2 separate regions of the Homo sapiens genome follow, and region 2 is linked to region 1. Evidence: promoter capture Hi-C in 16 types of primary human blood cells and fetal thymus (Javierre and others, 2016). All regions are on one chromosome and are shown on one strand. The core of a region is centred on a gene start or on the middle of the fragment in contact, and the rest is flanking DNA. Distances in the headings are between cores, read along the strand shown. Region 1 overlaps HNRNPC (heterogeneous nuclear ribonucleoprotein C). Region 2 holds the start of MDP1 (magnesium dependent phosphatase 1).

Region 1 (3,109 bases), core at 120-2,619:
AATGTACAGGTGTTTTTTTTTTAATTGTTTCCAAAACCGGGACCTGGATTTAAGATGTAATTTTTAAAATTTCTATTTCTATTTTTTCTGCAGCAGTTGGGTTAGAGGAGGAGGAGCCTTTTAGCCTCTCATAAACTGACCTCTCTACTTCCTCGTGTATTTTTAAGATTGATTGATGATGTGGAAAGGGCTTTGCTTGTCTGCTACTGAAAACTTTATCCTTGCGGTTTTTGTGGAAACTGCTTTTGGAAAGAGAAAAGAAATGAACTTTACTGACTTGACATTTTTGCACCTCCCGTTTTTCTAATCTGGGCTATTTTTATTTTTGTTTTTTTACAGTGAGATTTTTTTGATCTTCAGCTACAGTAAGTTATTCCAATTTTTTTTTAACATTTTTCCTGACTTTCCGCTGATTTCCTTTTTATTGTTGTTACTAGTTACTATTACTTATTATTATTATATTAATACTTATGATGGTGATGATGATGATGATAATGACACTGATGATTTTTAACCGGATTAAAATCGAGTTTTTCTGAATGTTTCTAAGAATTTCTCCGGCCTCCTGATTGACTTTGGAGTTTTGCATCTTGGGAGAGAAAGCGAAGGCATTAGTATTTTTAAGTGGTTTGATCACGTAAACCTTTTCTCTCCCAACCCCACCCTTGCCCTCATCCCCTTCCCCACACTGAAAAGAATTTTACTGGCTGTTAAGTCTATGACCTTATTTTTCCTGATCTTTAACTTAACTGTTTTAGAGCATCTCTGGACGTCTGTATTTTTAATTTTTTTTATTTTTGTTTTTTTATTTTTAATCTTTCATTTGTTAAATTTTTAAACTGTGCTGCAATAAAATGTGTGTGGTACTACTTAACACTTATGATCGTGATGGCATTTTCCCTGAAAGCCATCTTCCTCCTGTTTCCCTTGAAATCCCATCCTGCTTTTCCTGTACACTACCCCTCACAAACCACAAGCTGCAGCAACATGGATGCCCAGCCTGGAGCAGCAGCAGCCAGGATGACCTGGAGCCAGGGGGGCCTTCGGAACAGATGCACACCCTTCCTGGGTGATGGTAAGAGGTGTGAGGTCCACTTGGATTCATTACAAAGACTAGGAAATAAACCCGTTTAACAGTTTAGCTGATGTGTATAGGTCATAGCATCTGGAAGTGTTTGAAACTTTTGTGTGTGCATCTTGAGGTGTTTCCCAAGGGGGACCACCTCAGTTATTTGTAAACTAATGGAATAATATGAGTTGCTAATTAACTTGGGCTGATTAGAACATTTTGGATACTTGGAAAGAGCAGCTGAAGTTTAAAATGAAAGTGGCTTGTTTTAATGATTAGCAACAAGAAAACATATTGGGGAGTCCCTTTTTTTAGATTGTTACAAATCAGTAAACATTTTCTGTCATTTAACATATTCCTTGGGTTTGTGACATTTTTGGATTATATTCTATTTAGACTTTTTATCTCATTAATATTTCACAAGAGTCAAACCATAGGAGATACAACATAATATTAAAATGCTGTCTCACTGGAGGGCTTTTAAAAATTTGAAAAAAGGTAGGCTTTTTGACCTCACAAAGCAGGGAAATCTGTTTAACCTCTACATCCAAATTAGGAACTGTCTAAGGCTGACCCCTTTTACAGTGGTGACTCAAGACCCAGCTAGATTTTGGGAATTCTAATGTGAATTCATAGAGTTCTAATGCTAGATTAGGAACTCTAATGTGTTCTGATGTTAAGAAGGAGTGTATTCTGTGTTATTCACAGGAATGGTGTAGAGATTAGTAAAGATGTGGATAGCCAAAGAGAAGTTGAGCAACCCGTAGTATTTTACTCACTGCAGCAAAATGTTTTGATAACCATTTTAGAGTTGCTCTGATAGGTTTCAAGCTGGGAGATAATTAGATTTTATTTTAAAATATTTCTATTTTTTGTAGAGACAGGGTCTCGCTATGTTGTCTAGGCTGGTCTTGAACTCCTGGGCTCAAGCGATCCTCCTGCCTTGACACCCCCAAAGTGTTGACATTACAGGCATGAGCCACTGCACCTAACCTGGAATAATTTTTTGAAGGCATATTCGGTACTGTTGTACTAGGGTAAATCACAAACTTGCCCCCTTATACCATACTCGGATGAAAAGTGAAATCTAGTTAAAGTGAACACCAGAGGTACACTCAAAACAGAATGGGAGAAAAAGCAAAAGATTCCTGGAAGTTATCTAGAAAAAGAATGGGAATCTTTATTTTTTAAATAAGTGCAAGTTTTATTGATGCTCTCTATTGTATGAGAGCTATTTTTTCTTCTTTGCTGCTGTCAGTGTACGGAAGCTGTTCACTATAGGTTCAGTTTGATTTATTCCTTGTTAATTCTACAAATTTATTATTTTTATGGGACATGTTGTGTTTGGGGATATAAAAAATAGTTTATTATGTTTAAGGGCTTCGCAGCTTAGTGAGGGAGACACATGAATGAAATAATGTCCATATATGATGAGAGGTAAACACATATCCTATAGAAGCATGCCAAAATAAGCTGGGGGCGTTGGTACCTGCCTGTAAGCCTGTAGTCACAACTAATTGGAAGGCTGAGGCAGGAGGGTCCCTTGGCCCAGGATTTGAGAGACTGTAGTGTGTGATGTGATTATCCACTGCACTCCAGGCTGGGCAACATAATGAGACCCCATCTTTTTTTTTTTTTTTTTTTTTGAGACAGTCTCGCTCTGTTTCCCAGGCTGGAGTGCAGTGGTGCCATCTTGGGTCACTGCAACCTCCACCTCCCGGGTTCAAGCGATTCTCCTGCCTCAGCCTCCCGAGTAGCTGAGACTACAGGCACGGACCACCATGCACGGCTAATTTCTGTATTTTTAGTAGTGACGAGGTTTCACCATGTTGGCCAGGCTGGTCTCAAACTCCTGATCTCATGGTCTGCCCGCCTCGGCCTCCCAAAGTGCTGGAATTACAGGCATGAGCCACTGCACCTGGCCTTAAATTTTTCTATTTTTAGTAGAGACAGGGTTCAGTAGAGATGCCATGTTGGCCAGGATGGTCTCAAGTTCCTGACCTCAGGTGATCCACCCGCCTCAGCCTCCTGAAGTTTTGG
Region 2 (3,348 bases), core at 654-3,153, 3.0 Mb before region 1:
CAGGCATAAAACAAAATATATAGAATTAAAGGAAAACTAATTATATTGAAATAGTTATTAAAATACTAAAACAAATTTGTGATATAGTAATATATGTACTTTTTTATTAATGCATAAGATCTAATGGTAGGTCTAATATGACCATAATTTTGAAATATTTTCAAGATACCTATAAATGATCATGATAGAAAATAGTTAATTGCTATTGTTAACAAGTTACCTATATTGCTAATACTACTGTGGTTTTTGGGCTATGTTTAAAGTTAGAAGAAATGTTAAATTTCAGTTGGGGGTTAGTAAAAATAAAGATGGGATTTTTTTTCTCATTCAAGTTCACAGACCCCCAAAGAGATCCAGGAAACTCAAGAACTCCTGTTCTGGCCGGGCGCAGTGGCTCACGCCTGTAATCCCAGCACTTTGGGAGGCTGAAGGGGGTGGATCACCTGAGGTCAGGAGTTCGAGACCAGCCTGGCCAACATGGTGAAACCCCATCTTTACTAAAAATACAAAAATTAGCTGGGCGTGGTGGTGGGCGCTTGTAATCCCAGCTACTCAGGAGGCTGAAGCAGGAGAATTGCTTGAACCCAGGAGGTGGAAGTTGCAGTGAGCTGAGATCGTGCCACTGTACTCCAGCCTAGATGACAGAGCGAGACTCTGTCAAAAACAACAACAACAACAACAACAACAACAACAAAAAACTCCTAAGTCTTCTTTTTCTTTTTTTTCTGGCTTCCTTTTCCTGCAGGAATGATGAGAAGACAGCAGCTGATTACAAGATTTTAGGTGGTTCAGTCCTTCACCTGGTGTTGGCTCTGAGAGGAGGAGGTGGTCTTAGGCAGTGATGGACCCTCCATTTTACCTCTTTACCCTGTCGCTCATAATGAGGCATCATATATCCTCTCACTCTCTGGGACACCATAGCCACTGCCCCCTCCCCTGGATGCCCAGTAATGTATGTCTACTGGTGGGAGACTGTGAGGATCCCAGGATTCAGTATTCCTGGCCCAGAGGGCCCTTGCTGGCTACTGGGTGTTAGTTTGCAGTCCTGTGTGCTTCCCTCTCTTATGACTGTGTCCCTGGTTGTCAATAAAATATTTCCTGGCCTCCTGGAATCTTTCTTCTGTTGCACAAGTTGACTGAAATAAAAATGGACCTAATGCTCACTCAGTTATAGCAGGCTGAAGGAATCGGACAGTGGAAGGAATGGTGCTCTTACGGGGATTATCAGACTCTAGGAAAACCTACTTAGTGGTGTGTTGGAACCAGTTCCTAGTGGCTAATGAGAGCCAATTATTGGCACCTTTTTCCAACTCTATTAAGTGACTTCATGTTGGTAGCTTGAAATTGGCCATGGTAGGATTATTTACAGAAACTAGCAAACACTACAGATCAGTTCCTCCCCACAAACTGGTTGTTATACATCTACCAGTGTAGTGCTGACATGGATGGTGAAACCTTCGGAGAGTGAATTCTCTCTTGACTGTGGCTGTACTGGACATTTAGGCCTGGTTGGAGAACGCCTTCAAGGGTTTGGCTGACACTGTACTCTATGGCTGGAATATTACTGAGGACTTTGGGTTCTACACTGTCAGGAGGTTGATAATGCAGAAAGATTGAGTGACAAGCTGTGATGTATCACTTGGGTCTCAAGAAGAGGCAGGTGCTAGAAGAAAAGGCTTTCCTTCTTCCCTGGCTTCTTAGTATAATAGAATCGGGCAAGGCTGGGTGGAGTGGAGAAGTAGGGAGGATGCCCGTGGCCAATGCCTTAGAAAGACTTGACTGCTGTGGTTGCATGTGTGGTCGTGTTGGTACCTCGCTGCAATCCTCTTCCCCGCCCAGCATCAGATGGCACTCTTGCGCCATCTCCAGGCTGATGACGCCCCGAGTGGCGACGCTCTAGTCGCCATTTGTCTATGGCAGGCAGGGTGGCTGCCTTAGCTGCCGGAGGTTCCGCACTCTCTAAGGCCCCGGGTGAAGCCCCACCTCTGCTGCGCGCAGCCTGCGGTGCGGGTCATGGCGCGGCTACCGAAGCTGGCAGTCTTTGATTTGGGTGAGGGACGGGAAGGGGAGAATTTCGTAAGGTGCTCTCCTTTTCCACATCCCTAACAGCAGCTCCCGAATCCCTGCATCTCCCGCCCCAGGCTGAACCTTCCCTCTCCTTCCTCTCGCAGATTACACTCTCTGGCCTTTCTGGGTCGACACGCACGTAGACCCTCCGTTCCATAAGAGCAGGTGAGGTAGGGACAGGGAAGACTGGGGGCGAGATAGGACCCAGCCAGGGCTGAGCGCACTCTTGCCCTCTCCAGTGATGGAACTGTACGAGATAGGCGGGGCCAAGACGTCCGACTGTACCCAGAGGTGCCTGAGGTCCTAAAACGATTGCAGAGCCTTGGGGTGCCCGGTGCGGCTGCTTCAAGGTAAGAAGAGCGACTGACAACTGACAGTGTAATGCTGAAGGGTGCATGCAAGAGACAGTGAAACCCCTGGTCTACAAAAATAGGGGCGGTGCAAGTTTCCAAGTATTTACATATTTTTTCCCTTGAACGCTCTCCTGTGCCTTTTAACTATTAAAAAGTGGGGCCAGCAGGCGGGCGCGGTGGCTCACGTCTGTAATCCCAGCACTTTGGGAGGCCGAGGCGGGTGGATCACGAGATCGGGAGTTCAAGACCAGCCTGATCAACATGGTGAAACCCCGTCTCTACTAAAAATACAAAAATTAGCAGGGCGTGGTGGCACGCACCTGTAATCCTAGCTACTCGGGAGGCTGAGGCAGGAGAATCGCTTGAACCCGGGAGGCGGAGGTTGCAGTGAGCTGAGATGGAGCCACTGCACTTCAGCCTGGGTGACAGAGTGAGACAATGTCTCAAAAAAAAAAAAAAAAAAAAAAGTGGGGCCAGACACAGTGACTCACACCTGTAATCTTAGCATTTTGGGAGGCCTAGGTGGGAGGATCACTTGAGCCCAGGAATTTGAGACCAGCCTAGGCAATAGAGGGAGACCCTATCTCTACCAAAAAAAAAAAAAAAATTGTAGTGGCGTGCACCTGTAGTCCCAGCTACTTGGGAGGCTGAGGTGGGAGGATCACTTGAGCCCAGGAGGTCGTGACCACAGTGAGCCGTGATTGGGTCGCTGCACTCCAGTCTGGGCAACAGAGCTAGACCCTGTCTCAAAACAAAAGCTAAAACATTGGCCCAGCACCAATTGTGTCAAATAGGAAGGCAATGGAGTTAAACAGAGGCTGAGGATGCCTGTCCATCCCGGAAAAACAGCAAGTTGATTTCCCTGGTTATACTTACTAACTTTGCTTAATAAGTTAACGTAGCCCTGGCCCTTCACTTTGCTAATCCC

What was found. The method cuts DNA at HindIII sites, captures the fragments that hold promoters and counts their contacts. A CHiCAGO score of 5 or more calls a contact.
Region 2: the fragment with the promoter of MDP1 here is called in contact with a fragment that was not itself captured in region 1 in 1 of 17 cell types (non-activated CD4 T cells); the score reaches 6.5 in non-activated CD4 T cells.

Annotation. Positions count from the first base shown.
Region 1 is chr14:21,260,567-21,263,675 of GRCh38, reverse strand. HNRNPC (heterogeneous nuclear ribonucleoprotein C) reads left to right here. Exons shown (of 9, transcript NM_004500.4): 2 at 340-365. Among named protein-coding and RNA genes, the nearest start is that of HNRNPC, 7.3 kb to the left of the region's middle. The HindIII fragment of the contact is 6,125 bases long and covers 1-3,109 here.
Region 2 is chr14:24,214,621-24,217,968 of GRCh38, reverse strand. It overlaps MDP1 (magnesium dependent phosphatase 1), which reads left to right and starts at 1,903. Exons shown (of 6, transcript NM_138476.4): 1 at 1,903-2,050; 2 at 2,172-2,232; 3 at 2,307-2,417. The coding sequence starts at 2,014. It overlaps NEDD8-MDP1 (NEDD8-MDP1 readthrough), which reads left to right. Exons shown (of 7, transcript NM_001199823.3): 4 at 2,307-2,417. It overlaps NEDD8 (NEDD8 ubiquitin like modifier), which reads left to right. Exons shown (of 4, transcript NM_006156.3): 4 at 746-1,112. The coding sequence ends at 842. RefSeq lists enhancers at 1,857-2,026, 2,439-3,177. The HindIII fragment of the contact is 6,893 bases long and covers 1-3,348 here.